Linked DNA regions of Homo sapiens: regions 1, 2, 3 and 4 are each linked to region 5. Evidence: promoter capture Hi-C in 16 types of primary human blood cells and fetal thymus (Javierre and others, 2016). All regions are on one chromosome and are shown on one strand. The core of a region is centred on a gene start or on the middle of the fragment in contact, and the rest is flanking DNA. Distances in the headings are between cores, read along the strand shown. Region 1 has its middle 25 kb from the start of SLC25A51. Region 2 overlaps SHB (SH2 domain containing adaptor protein B). Region 3 has its middle 130 kb from the start of ALDH1B1. Region 4 has its middle 160 kb from the start of ALDH1B1. Region 5 holds the start of SHB (SH2 domain containing adaptor protein B).

What was found. Contacts are between HindIII fragments. The CHiCAGO score rates a contact against its expected background, and 5 or more counts as called.
Region 1: a fragment that was not itself captured here is called in contact with the fragment with the promoter of SHB in region 5 in 1 of 17 cell types (M1 macrophages); the score reaches 5.1 in M1 macrophages.
Region 2: a fragment that was not itself captured here is called in contact with the fragment with the promoter of SHB in region 5 in 8 of 17 cell types (M0 macrophages, M1 macrophages, endothelial precursors and 5 more); the score reaches 13.1 in M0 macrophages.
Region 3: a fragment that was not itself captured here is called in contact with the fragment with the promoter of SHB in region 5 in 3 of 17 cell types (endothelial precursors, M0 macrophages and M1 macrophages); the score reaches 9.1 in endothelial precursors.
Region 4: a contact is called between a fragment that was not itself captured here and the fragment with the promoter of SHB in region 5, in 2 of 17 cell types (M0 macrophages and fetal thymus). The highest score is 5.3, in M0 macrophages.

What each region holds. Positions count from the first base shown.
Region 1 is chr9:37,877,533-37,880,232 of GRCh38, forward strand. It overlaps a transcript of SLC25A51 not described here and the pseudogene PAICSP1. Among named protein-coding and RNA genes, the nearest start is that of SLC25A51, 25 kb to the right of the region's middle. The HindIII fragment of the contact is 5,529 bases long and covers 1-2,700 here.
Region 2 is chr9:37,925,131-37,927,830 of GRCh38, forward strand. The region is part of intron 5 of SHB (SH2 domain containing adaptor protein B); the gene reads right to left. Among named protein-coding and RNA genes, the nearest start is that of SLC25A51, 22 kb to the left of the region's middle. The HindIII fragment of the contact is 2,669 bases long and covers 87-2,700 here.
Region 3 is chr9:38,258,852-38,261,551 of GRCh38, forward strand. No RefSeq gene overlaps it. Among named protein-coding and RNA genes, the nearest start is that of ALDH1B1, 130 kb to the right of the region's middle. The HindIII fragment of the contact is 8,269 bases long and covers 1-2,700 here.
Region 4 is chr9:38,232,995-38,235,694 of GRCh38, forward strand. No RefSeq gene overlaps it. Among named protein-coding and RNA genes, the nearest start is that of ALDH1B1, 160 kb to the right of the region's middle. The HindIII fragment of the contact is 4,391 bases long and covers 1-2,700 here.
Region 5 is chr9:38,067,901-38,070,600 of GRCh38, forward strand. It overlaps SHB (SH2 domain containing adaptor protein B), which reads right to left and starts at 1,327. Exons shown (of 6, transcript NM_003028.3): 1 at 29-1,327. The coding sequence starts at 745. RefSeq lists an enhancer at 1-567 and silencers at 458-507, 928-1,737. The HindIII fragment of the contact is 5,108 bases long and covers 1-2,700 here.

The DNA.
Region 1 (2,700 bases), core at 106-2,605, 190 kb before region 5:
TCATTCTTGATTCTTGGTTGTTTTTTTTTTTTTTTTTTTTTTGAGACAAGGTCTTACTATATTGCCTAGGCTGGACTTGAACTCTCAAACTCCTGGACTCAATAGATCCTCCTGCCTTGGCCACCCAAAATGCTGAGATTGCAGGCGTGAGCCACTGTGCCCTGCCAGGACTGGCTTTTTAAAGAGGCAACAGGGCCAGGCATGGTGGCTCATGCCTGTAATCCCAGCACTTTGGGAGGCTGAGGTGGGTGGATCACTTGAGCTCAGAAGTTTGAGACCAGCCTAGGCAACATGGTGAAACCCTGTCTCTACAAAAAATACAAAATTTAGCTGGGAATGGTGGCACACACCTGTGGTCCCAGCTACTGGCAATGCTGAGATGGGAGGATCGCTTGAGCCTGGGAGGCTGAGGCTGCAGTGGGCCAAGATTGCGCCAATGCACTCCAGCCTAGGTGACAGAGTGAGAATCTGTGTCAATAAATAAATAAATAAATAAATAAAGCAAGAGGTATCAAATATTCACAACAGAGATTTCTGCCTCTCAGCATGGGTGCAACTTTCATCCCACTCAGGATAATAGTGAGAGCTGAGGTACTGAACATTGCTAAAAAACTATGTGAGGGTAAAACAAAAGAGGTCTATGAATTGCTTGTTAGATAGGCCAGGAAAAGTCCTGCAATCTAAGGACCAGATTACAGCAGGAAATGCAGTCAGAATCACCTGGAAGGAAAAGCTGCAATCTCAAATAAAATTACCAGTTGCATTTTTCTGTTGTTACAGGAAGCAGGTATTAAAACTGCTTTCACCAGAAAATGTGAGGAGACAGCTTTCATTGTGCCCCAGTGTGAAATAATTCCAACTGAATGGTTTGCAGAAGAATACCAACTGGTTCTTCACTCGAAAGAAATCCTGGTGTCAAGGAAGGATGTGAGTTTTGCCCACCTAAAGTGGAGATGTTTTTCAAGGATGATGCCAATCATGACCCACAGTGGTCTAGGCAACAGCTAATTGCAGCAAAATTTGGCTTTGCTGCACTTGGTATAAAACTGAAGTGGATATCATGAGTCATGCCACATAGGCTGTTTTTGAAATCCCGGAGAAATCCCGGTTGCTCCCAGAACTGTACACCGGTTGATATGAAGATTGAATTTGGTGTTCATGTGACCAGCAAAGAAATTCTCACTGATGTTATTGATAATGACTCCTAGAGACACTCACCATCGGGGGAGCAAAGCCAATAGAAAGACAGTCTTTTAATCATACTTTTAAAAATGTTATTTTAAAAAAATAGAGCCAGTCTTGCCATGTTGCCCAGACTCAAGCAATCCTCCTGCCTTAGCCTCCCAAAGTGCTGGGATTACAGGCGTGAGCCACCACTCCTGGCTGAAACAGTCTTATCAAGGCTTCAGTGTAACTCCTGAAGGGTTCCAAATGGTAAGGAAAAACTTTGCGTGGGTTGTAGAGAGTAGAGTTGCTTTTGAAATCAGAAAGTCAGTGCAGTGTTATAGTATTGATGGGTTCTACTTCTGATCTTAATCACCGTGAAAAAAATCAAGGCCTGTGGAAATTTTGGCATTCCATGTAGACTTTGAGTAACATCTGCACATAAAGGACCAGAAGAAATGCTGAGGATTAAAGCTGAGTATGAAGGGGTGGCAGTCGTACTGTATTTGTGGCAGTGGCAGGCAGAAGCAATGGTTTGGGATCAGTGATGTTTGGGAACACTACACATCCAGTTATCTATTGTCCTCCCCTCACACCAGACTGAGGAGTTCAGGATGTGTGGTCTTCTCTGCGACTACTCAGTGGTCTCGGCTATTCAACCATACTTTCTCCAGAAGGATCAGCTCAGTTTGCTACTCAGATATTTGGATTAAACAACCATTTATTATGGGGCAAACTGCAAGCAAGCACTTTGAACACATGGATTTTTTGGAAGAAAGGTGACAAGAAAATCAGAGAAAACATCATTGCATTTTTAGGGGGAAAACTACAAATTTCTAATTTAGCTGCAGAAAAAATAATTAGAGAACACAAATAAAATGTACTAGTGAATACATGCTTCTCTAGACCCAAACAAAAACTATTTGCAACGTAATTAAAACAGGTTAAGTGCTGTGAAAAATAGAAACATGGTGACATAGAAGAGCCTGACGGGGGAACCTAACCGAGTCCTGAGAGTGTAAGCCAGCTTCCCCAAGGAAGTGACACTTCAACCGAGATCTGAAGGACAGCAGTCTATAAATGAAGTAGAGAAAGGCAGTGCTGAGGGCAGAGGGCACCTGCATGGGCAGAGGCTGGGAGCAAGATGAGTACAGCGTGCCCCAAGTAATCAGGAAGTGCCAGTGGCTGGAGTGCAGAGACAGCAGCGCAGTTTTAGCTAGAGATGAGAGTAAGGGAGGCAAGGGCTGGATCATCCTGTCTCCTGTAGGCCACAGCAAGATGTTTGGTCTTTATGGCAGAGGAAAAGCATTTATTGAAGTGACATTTTAAAAAATTACTGATGGCCGGGCACGGCGGCTCACGCCTGTAATCCCAGCACTTTGGGAGGCTGAGGCAGGTGGATCACTTAAGGTCAGGAGTTTGAGACCAGCCTGGCGCAAAACTGTCTCTACTGAAAAAATACGAAATTTAGCCGGGTGTGATGGCGGATGCCTGCAATCCCAGCTACTCCGGAGGCTGAGGCAGGAGAGTCGCCTG
Region 2 (2,700 bases), core at 171-2,670, 140 kb before region 5:
TCCATCCATCCATCCATCCACCCGCCCACCAGGGTCTGCCCAGAGCCGGGGCAATGAGGCCCCATGCATCCTCCCCTCCAGACGTAAGCTTCCCAGGGCAGGCTGGTGGCTGGTCGACCTTGTCCCTGACTGCAGCCCAGCAAAGGGAGAAGCTGCCCACTCTGAGGCTGGATACAGTGGATGCTTTCTCCAGTCAGCAACAGTCCCAGGACGAGCCAGTGAGAACTGGCAGAGTGGGAAGGACTGGGGAGCTTCCGGAGGGTCATCCCTATGAGGTGAGTACACAGGCACACGCTTTTCAAATCAGAAAGTCTCCCCCAGGGAGGCCACAGGGAAGAATGCACCAGAGCCCTCTTCCCTTAGGATTTGGAAAGGACTTATTCCTGAGGCCACTCAGCCGCCCAGTGTCCCCTGCCCAGGCCTAAATAAAACATGAAAGTGAGACAAGTTCCCTTGCAAAATCATGGTCTTCTTGAAGGGGTAATGTGAGCGCTGGCCCTGCCCCTCCCTACTCAGGCTCTAAGTGGCTGCGTCTTTTCTTCTTGTTGGGCTATTTTATTTTGCTATTTTTTACCCCTACTCTTTCTTATGACTTTATTTTCCATTACCCCAAAGAATGTGGCACAAAGCTGTTGGGCCATTTTAAACATTTAAATCTTACATTGTGCGAAGATTCCTGGGCCAGGTTGTTGGAAGGAGAGACAGAATGAGCTTGTGCATTTAAAGTGCACTCAACCATCAGTTGCCAGATAATTCTCAGGTGAGGGAGGTGTCGCAGGTCCCTTGGCCTTGGGGAGCAGGGCAGCGAGTGCTCACACTCTGATCCCTGGGAGCACTGCCTCTATGCTTGGCATGGGGAAGGGCCCTTCCACCCCCACAGACATGTACTTGCTTCCAACAGGGTGGAGGCAAACAGGGAAGTTTGTGCGGAATTGAAGGGAGTCAGGCCCAGCTCTAATGCTAACCTGCTGTGATGTGGGTGAGAGCCAGCATGGAGGGTGACCATGGCAAGGTACCTCCGTGGTCACCTACAAGCCTGCAAAATGGGTAGTTCCTGCCATAACCCCACCCCCACCCTGAGGATGGCAATTCTGCCTCTTGAAAGCAGTGCCTTTATGACTCACAACTTCTGCTCTCCTCCTGCCGCCTCTTTGACCTCCAGGGAAGTGGGACATTTTGCTAGGTCTATGCCTCTAAAGAAACTCTCCTCCTCACACCCGCGAGCAGGATGCAGCCACTTCAGCAACACTAGTGCTAGAAGATTCGAGAAGCACAGCATTACCCATCTTACCGACTGTGGCCATGCTGCCAAGAGCTCTATGTACCTCTTCACAGCAACACCAAGAGATGGGCCTACAGATTCCAGGTGGGGAAACAGAGTCAGAGGGCTCAAGTGACTGGCCTGGGACTATGCAGCCACTGAGGCGAGAAGTGAGACTGAACACAAGTCCATTGAATCTTCACAGAGCCAGAGTGGGTGCCCGCCTGCCAGGCAGACACACGACCCCGTTCTCCCTCAATGTGTGGTAGATAAAGAGGCGGTAGAGATCTCTGAAGAGAATTAGGCCACTGTTTCAGTACAGCATTCAGCAAAGAGAGGGCCCTGCTATCTTAGCAGAAAGCCAACAATCCCAAATGCATGGAGAGCTGTAGCCTGGACCTGGGCTACCTCCTTACAGACACTGCCCCAACACTGTGAGAGATGTGGCTTCTCCACAGCAAATATTTCAACAGTCCACCTCTGTGGTCCAATTACTCACCCAGAGCCCAGGCAGATCCCACTCACACAGGGCCTGGCCTACCTCTGGCATGGCTGAGAAGACCTTAAATGCTCCCTTGGTCCATGACTGGACTAACCTGTGGCCTCCCAAGGAAGCTGGGAGGGCTGGCATTATATGCAAGATACCCACTGCACAGATGAGAAGACTAAGGGTCTGAGGGAGAAGCAACTTGCCCAGTCACGATGCAAGGCTATCAGGGCTTCCCAAGCCAGGGGACCAGGATGTAAGTGCATCTCACTGTGTGACTGGTTTCTCCAGCTGTCTGAGGCGTGGGGCAGGGGGCATGGAGGCTCCTTCTAGCTGAGATGTTCTAATAGTCAAGGCAGCTGGGATAAAGGAGCTTAGGAGGCCACGTGGCCAACACCTGCATCCTGCCCACAGCTTCCAAAGCAGCCTTCACAGTGACAAGCCAAAGACACACACACCAAGTTATTGTGAACAAACGTCTCAATGTAAACGCTGCTGAGCAAAATGACGTGATTTACAACCAAATAATTAGACTTTCAATAGACGCATCAGCAGCGATTAGCCTACCCGAGACGCCAGGGCATTTCTCAAGCTCTAAGTTGGTGGCCCAGGGTGAAGGCCTTCAGTAAATCATGACAAAAAGCCATCTCTAGGCAGGAGAGCTGGCAGATGCCTCTCCTGGCGAACATGTAGAGGCATAAGGCTCGTTTTAGCACACAAAGCAGTAGGTATGTCAAAATGAACCCATTTTGGGCAATTTTTCTCATGAGAAAACCAACACATTATTAGACAAGAAGTTTTTAAATGATGAGCGCTCAGACTGAGGGAGTAAGCCTCCCATTACCAGGGGTGTGTAAGTGGGAAGGCAATGACACTTGGTGGGTGGATCCCGCTGGATGCCTTTTGTAGTCCCCCCTCAGGGTTCCCACCAGCCTCAGCCAAGTGCACGTGG
Region 3 (2,700 bases), core at 118-2,617, 190 kb after region 5:
GGCTCCTAACTGGCTTTTAGCCACGAGGCTCTACCCTCTTCCTCTCCACATGTGAGAGTTCACCATAAATTAACACGTTAAACAGAAGGACAGGCACAGAGAGAGTCAGAAACCCAGGCTCCCTCATGGGGATGTGGCAGGCCAGTTTTCTGCTTTACCCCTCAATTTTCTCATCTGTAAAAGGGGTTAATAATTCCTGTACGGCCACACCCCCTCCCAAGGCTGTGGTGAGGATTAAGAGGGTGATGGAGATAATGACTGGGCATGAATTCAAGAGGGAGGGGCCACATGAAATGGTAGTAGGGGCTTCCATTTACCTGGGCTCACCTGGCCTGCCCAAGCTCATAGGTCAATTGTAACACCCCACTATCTGCCATTTGTATGGCTCTTTACAGACAGAAACCTGAGGCTCAGAGGGAAGTACCTTGCTCTAGGTCATAAAGCTCAGGTTGTGTAAGGTGAGAAGGAACTCAGCAGAGCCAGCAGCAGCTCCTCTCTCTCTAGTTTGCATTATATTTGAAATTTATCACAACAGAAGCAACAGGAGACACGTGAAGACGGCCAGAGTCAGGTCTGGAACCAGGGTGTCTGTGTCCATTGTCCTCATTCTTAACCGGGGTGCTATGTATGATACACAGTTGGGTGAAGGCTGAGCTTCACTGAGGCTGGAGAGCGCTCATGTTCCCACTCAGGCCCCATCGCCCATCTGCAGATGGTGGCCCCTCCACAGGTGGGCAATGAGGCCTGAGTGTAGACATCCAAGGGAGATAAGAGGTGCTAAAGTCTGGTGGGCCAGGGAGTTGGCTCTGAATCTGCATCTTTGGACCAGGTCATAGGAATCCAACTGTCTGCTCCTTGCTTCACAGCTCCTTCCCTAGCCACTCTGAATGGGCCCAGAAAGAACTCAGGCTGGTGACGATGGGTAATCAGACCTGCTTGTAGAACATTAGAGCTCACTTAGAGCTTCGAATCAGCCTAGATAGAGGCCAATGTCCATCAACTGATGTGGGGAGGTTGGAGGTTTCTGAGGGAGAGATAGGAGCATTTGCAAGGAAGCAGGACTCCTGAAAAGAAAGGGATAAAGATTCCCAGCCCTATAAGAGTTACAAGTACTGAAGCATACCTAGTGGCCTGGAGTGGTCCTGAGCAAGGCACAATAACAAGGATGAACCAGGAAGAGGACTCCACACAGAATTCACGAAGGGAGGGAGATGGCACCAGCTGGCTTACATCTACACTGAGGCAAAGGATGGGAGAGGACATGAAGGTAGGTGGTGCTTTATCCTTCTTATAAATCTAAACATTAATAAAATCCAGCGCCTCGAACGCTGCATCCTCTGGAGGGGAGGTATTTACCCAAGACAAATAAAAACATATGACCACAAAAAGAATTGTTAAAAAACCAAAAGTCCATAGCAGCTTTGTTCACAATGGATAAAAGCTAGAAATATCCCAGGTGTCCATCAACAGAAGAGTGGACAAACTGTGGTATATCCACACAACAGGATACGACTCTGTGCAAAGAAGACAAAAATTAGTGATATGCACATCCACATGTATGAATCTTAAAAACACTGGGCTGACTGAAAGAGGCCTTTTATGGTATGTCTCAATTCACATGATGTCCTAGAACAGATACAATTAAGCTCTGGTAGGAAAAAAAAAAAGAAAAAAACAGAAAAGTGTTTGCAGGTGGAGGCGGGAGCAGTGGGAATTGGATGGGAAAAAGCATGAGTGGACTTCCTGGCGTGAAGAATATTTTCTATCTCTTGATGAAGGGTTTGAATTACATCAGTGGATGAACTTGGCAAAACTCTTTGAATAGTAAGACTTAAGATTTGTGCATTTGATTATATAAAAATTTACTTTAAAAAATCTGTAAATACATATGGAACTCTAGTTAATGATATACATGTTGAAGTGTTTCTGGGCAAAACATATTTTTTAGTATCTTATTTTAAAATGCATTTAAAAATAAGATGGATAGACAGATGGATCAATTGATAGATGATAAAGCAAATATGACCAAATGTTAATTTTGGTGGGTATATGGGTGTTTGCTTTATAACTTTAAAAATTTTCCTGTATGTTTGAATATTTTTGTAACAGAATGTTGTGAGGAAGATAACTGGTGCTAATTGTCTTTCTTTCTCTTTCTTTCTTTCTTTCTTTCTTTCTTTCTTTCTTTCTTTCTTTCCTTCCTTCCTTCCTTCCTTCTTTCTTTCTTTCTTTCTTTCTTTCTTTCTTTCTTTCTTTCTTTCTTTCTTTCTTTCTTTCTTTCTTTCTTTTTCTTTCTTTCTTTTAGATGAAGTTTCACTCCTGTTGCTCAGGCTGGAGTGTAGTGGTGTGATCTCTGCTCATTGCAACCTCTGCCTCCCAGGTTCAAGTAATTCTCCTGCCTCAGCCTTCAGAGTAGCTGGGATTACAGGTACCTGCCACCATGCCTGGCTGATGTTTTGCATTTTTATTTTTATTTATTTATTATTTATTTATTTATTTATTTATTTATTTATTTATTTATTTAGAGATGGAGTCTTGCTCTGTTGCCCAGGCTGGAGTGCAGTGGCACAATCTTGGCTCACTGCAAGCTCCACCTTCCAGGTTCTTGCCATTCTCCTGCCTCAGCCTCCCGAGTAGCTGGGACTACAGGCGCCCACCATGATGCCCGGCTAATCTTTTGTATTTTTAGTAGAGACAGGG
Region 4 (2,700 bases), core at 111-2,610, 170 kb after region 5:
TCTCCCATCCGAGTGCAGCTGTGCCTGTGAACAATGACATTGTCCCTGCAGGACATACCCAGGGTGGGGCACCAGGTAAGGCCCAAGTGTAAAATTCCACGTGCTATCGACTCACCTGCCATCCTCCTCAGGAGGTTGGACAGAGGTGGGACAGGAGCTGCCCTCTTCAAACCCAGTCCCAGGTTCTAGTCCCAGCTCTGTGAATGGCTGACTGGGTGACTCCAGGCAGGCTGCAGTCACTCTCCCAGCCTCAGTGTCCCCACTGTTGGCTGAAGGTCTGGAGCCCCAGCCCTGAGAGGTGCCAGCCTGCGCCCTGGAGGCTGGCAGGCCGGCTGCAGTGCTGCCGTCCTGGCACGGGAGCTCAAGCAGTGCACTCTCGCACTGGGGCTGCGCTTTCTTTTGATCACGCTTTCTCCTCACCTTGTCCTTGTGTCACTGGATAGGATCCCATCTGTCATGCTGAGCCATCTGCTTCCTCTCCTGCCATCTCTGCTGCCCAACTCTAAGTAAATTAAAAAACAAAGAGGCAGGAAGCCGCTGACAGCCGCATTTATCCTCATTTCTGTGGCTGGCAATGGGAGCTGAAGGGCTGGCTTGGTGGGTCTGAATTAAAGATTAGAGCAGGTGGGGAGGGAGACAGTCCTGTGGCTGTGACACCTCGACCGCGGATGACACCTTGGGTGGCCATGAATGTGGGCAGGGGCTGGGGAGGAAGGGATTCGAGTCAGTGTGAGGGGCAGTGGTGGGACGCTTTGGAGTTGGGCAAAACTGGTTTGTACCATCTCTGTGTATGACCCTGGGCAAGTCATTTACACTGGAAGCCTCAGTTTCCTTATCTGCGAGATGGGCATAATCGATATTACTGACTACACAAAGTGGTTGGGAGACTCAGTGAGAAGCATATAGTTTCATAGCAGGTATGCAGCCGGTGCTCTACAGAGAGGTATTTCTGAGGGATGCAGGGGACGCACGGAAAAAGATGGGGTTGGCATGGAGCCACTTGCCCAGGGAAGGGCATTAGGGAGGAGTTTGGTGACCTGTGTCTCCTCCGTGGGCCTCAGTCCCCACATCTCAAAGATGGGACTAGGACTGTTGGGTCAAACTCTAGGAAAAGAGCTGAAGGGGCAGGAGGCATGGGACAGCTGGGGGCTCAACTTGGAGGACAAGTGGGTCAGGAGCAGGAGACGCTGGAGGGGTCCGCTGTGGTGGCTTCCCAAGGATGGCTCTGCAGTTGATTGTGTTATTGCTTCCCACTGTTTCCTGCCCTCCTTCTGAGAAGATTGTATAATTTCTCCACCCCACTGACATCAGGTTTGGCCACACAACCAGTTCTGAGCAGAAGCTCCAAGAGCCGTCACACATTTCCATGATTGCTCTTTCTTTCCTACCATGGGAGCAAAATAAGGTGTTTTCATCTAGTCTAGGTGTTGAAATGAGGGTGGTGTGGGTCAGAGCCAAAGCTGACCCACAGCAGATATGGATGTGAGCCAGAAATAAATGTTCACTGTGAGTCACTGACATGTTAGGGTCTTTAGCAGAAGCTGTCTGTATAGGCCCCTTGGACTCCAAGCTGATCCTGATTTTAAGGAAAAGGTGCAGCCTGACTCTGCCTGCTTTCCTGCAATTTCTGGGTTCAGGCAGACAAAGGACCTTCTCTGGGCCTTGGTAATTTTGTCTGTAGAATGATTAGCCATGGATAAGTGAAAGTCCATAAGGTGGGGGAGGGTGGAGGACCATGCAACGGTGTCACCCCCAGTCCCAGGGGACCCTCCTGGGGTGGGCAGGCATGTGGCACAAATGAAAGCATATGTGACTATATTCTCGTCCTTTCCCCACTTCAGAGCATTTCTATTTCTTCCCACAGATCATACCATTGCAATGATCATTGCCCAGAACGCAGGCAACTCTACTCCCAAGCCATGTTACCACAATTATAGAGAGGTCATTAAGACACATTCCATGGATATCAGCTTAGACGTCCCTGAGTCTCAGGGTCTAAGTCTTCTTCCTGGCCTGACCTGATAGAACTCATGATTGGGAAATGGCCAGGCTCTAACTGAGACATAGAGATGTCCCTCCAGGCAGGCAAACAGCTTAACACAGCTTCAAAATGAAAGCCTTGACATTTATCTAAAGAGAAGGGATAGCTAACGGTGACATTAATCCTCTTTTTACTCTCCTGAGATATTTACTTCTGGCCCCAAACTTGATTAGTCCATTCTGTAAGACCAGAGCTCTGTAGGTAAGCAGGTCTCCCTGGAGTGGACATTTGTCCTTTGGGAGCCATCCTGGCATCTGAGTGCCCCGCTTATGCTTTGTCAGAGTCTGGCTCTCACAGTAGAAGCAGAAAAGGCTGGACACTTATTTTCCAGCCTCCCAGCAGTGAGGCCACAGGCACTCGCTCCCATCTGCTCCAGTGACACAGACAGTGGAGGCTCCATGCTGGTGCAGCAGCAGCCCCAGCCTCCAAGGGTCATGGTGGCAGCAGGGCAGCTGGCGGATCCAGTGCCCAGTGCAAGCAGCTCTGCCGTGTGAGCTGTGGCTAGCAGGACTTGGGGCCGGTAGCAGAGTTCTTGGTACTCTGCTCTGTGAGAGCTTCTGGCCATGGTCCTGGCCTCTGCCCATTTTCTAATCCTGGTTCTGCATCTGTCCCATGTATTCTGTGAGATCCTCACTGTTCTTTCACTAAATTTGCCTTCT
Region 5 (2,700 bases), core at 77-2,576:
CTCGGGAAGAGGCCAAGGGGCACCTTACCTTGTCCTTCTTGCCGGCCCCGCTCTCCTCCGCGGCTGAGGCGGCGCACTTGTTGAGCAGTTTCTTGCCTCCGCAGGCCGTCGGGCTCCAGGTGCGGCCGCCCGCGCAGGCGCCCCCCAGGGGGTCCCCGGCCCCACCGCCCGCGGCGCTCTCCACTTTGATGAGGCGGTGCTTGGGGGAGATGTAGCGCACCTCGGCCGGCGTGGCGGGCCGCCGCTCGCTGCTGCTGCGGTAGAGATGCGGAGAGCCGGAGGACGAGGACGAGGACGCGGCGGCCCCCGCGCCCGAGGAGGCGCAGCAACAGCCCGCGGCGCCCGACGCGGACGAGGCCGAGAAGGCGCGCTGGACCCCGCCTGGCTCCCCGCTGCCGCCGCAGTAGTCCAGGCGGCACATGGCGCGCAGTTTGCGCAGCGACGAGCCAGGCCCGTTGTAGGGGTCCTCGAAGTCTCGCTCCTTCTGCGCGCGGTAGGCGCGGATGAGGTCGCTGGTGCTGCCGCTGTCGTCGGGCAGCGAGCCCGAAGAGGCTGAGAAGCAGGAGGCGGTGGCCGGACCGCAGGACGCCGAGGCGGCGGAGGAGGCCTGCGGCACGGCCTGGGGGGGCTGCGAAGGCCGCTCGCCTCGGCGCCGCTGCTCGCGGTAGTCTGGCCGCGGCGGCTGCGGGGGGCTCTTGGTCTTGCTGTTGCCCAAGCTGAAGTACTTGTTTAGCCACTTGGCCATGGCGAGAGGCCGCCTAGGGCCGCGGCGCGGGAGCCCGGTCCGCCGCCGCGGCCATTCGGGGGGCAGCGCTGCGGCGCAGGTCCCTCGGCGCCCCGGCCCCGGCGGGGGGCGTCCGGGGCGCCCGCTCCCGACGCCAAGTTCAAGTTCTTGCCGCCGCCGCCTCCTGCCGGCAGCTCTCTGGCTCCGGCGGCTGCAACACCTCCCTCCGCCTAGCGCCGCCCAAGCTAGGAATCTCGCGCCCCTCGTGGGCGCGTCTCATGGGGTCCCGGCCCACGCCCGGGGGAGAGCGGAAGGTCCGAGCGCTCCACGCCGCGGACCCTTTGGCCGTACGCCCCTCGCCGTGGATCGCGCTCCTGCCCCGTCGGAGCCGCAGCCTCCGCCTTGGCCGGGATCCGCGGCTGCCGCGGGAACTTCTCGGCGTCCTCGGCTCCCTTCTTCCTTCCTGCGAGCGCTGGGGAGAGCTCGGCCCCGCAGCGGAGGAGAATGCGGCCGGGAGAGACAGCGAGCGACGGAGGAAGGCAGCCGGCGCCCGCCGGAGCCCGCGCGCCCGTGCCCGTCCCGGCGGCGCCTGTCGCTGCCACTGCCGCCGCCTCCCGAGCCGCCGCGTGTGTGACACTCAGGCCGCCAGAGCCCGCCCCGCGCCGCCGCCCCGCCCCCCCGGAGCCCGCTCGCGCGCCCCGCCCCCCGCCCGCTCCCGCAGACCCAGCACCGCCCATCCCCGCGAGCCTGGCCCCGGGCCGCGGCCCAAGCCCCGCCCCCCTCGCGCCCGGGGCCGGGGTGGGCGCACCTCTCCGCTCCTGCACACGCCACCTCCCGCGGCTGCCCTGGCGCCAGCACCAGGGTCTTGCCCCAGGGCGCTGGGGTCCCGCCGCGCAGCCGGCTCCACCTAGCTTGCAGCTCGCCGCCGCCTCGGGCGAGAGGTTGCCTGGCGGAGCCTGCTACGCGCAGAGGCCAAACCTTTCCGCAGTCCCCCGGGACCCCGCGCGTTGTTCACTCCAGGGATCCCCCTGTCGGGGTTGAGGAGGGAGAGTGGATTAACACGGAACCTGTCTAGTTTACAGCGTGGCCCGTGTGGAGGAAATGCAGTGCCTAGTGCCCTTAGGGACAGAGTGGCTGTCCCTCTTCCTTAAAGGGACAGACTCCGGTTCAGCCCCGTGCGCCAGGTCTTCGGAGGAATCTTTATGCTAATGAGTGTATTAGCAGTCCAGATGACGGATGTGGTCGGGATAGGCGGTGGGAGCCGGGCCCAGCACCAATCCGAGAGCAAGGCTAGGGGAGGTCGGAATGTTTGCTTACCTTTTCACCTCTGAGGAAGTCGAGGCTTTAGCCCTGTTCGCTGCCAGCCGGCGGGGAGCAAGTTGTGGGAACATTTAATGCCTTATGTTGTAGGAGCTGGCAAGGATCCATTTAATACAGGACCTCGGCCGGGTGCGGTGTCTCACGCCTGTAATCCCAGCACTTTGGGAGGCCGAGGCGGGTGGATCACGAGGTCAGGAGTTTAATACCAGCCTGGCCAAGATGGTGAAACCCCGTCTCTACTAAAAATACAAAAATTAGCCGGGTGTGGTGGCGGGTACCTGTAATCCCAGCAGCTACTCGGAAGGCTGAGGCAGAGAATTGCTTGAACCTGGGAGGCAGAGGTTGCAGTGAGCCGAGATCACACCACTTCACTCCAGCCTGGGCGACAGAGGGAGATTCCGTCTCAAAAAATAAATACAGGACCTCATTTTACAGATGGAGAAACTGAGGCCCAGAGGAAAGTCACACAGGTGGACTTGGATGCCAGTTCCTAAGTCGGGTGGCACCATAATTATGTCTTTTCCAAGAGTCTCTTCTTTGCGATTTCAGATCATCCTTTGATTATTAACCAAAATTGAGGAAACAGTCCCAGGGAGTGGCCTGATTTGGTCAGTGTAACTTTTCCTGGGATCTGCACCCAGGGGAGGTGGCATGCT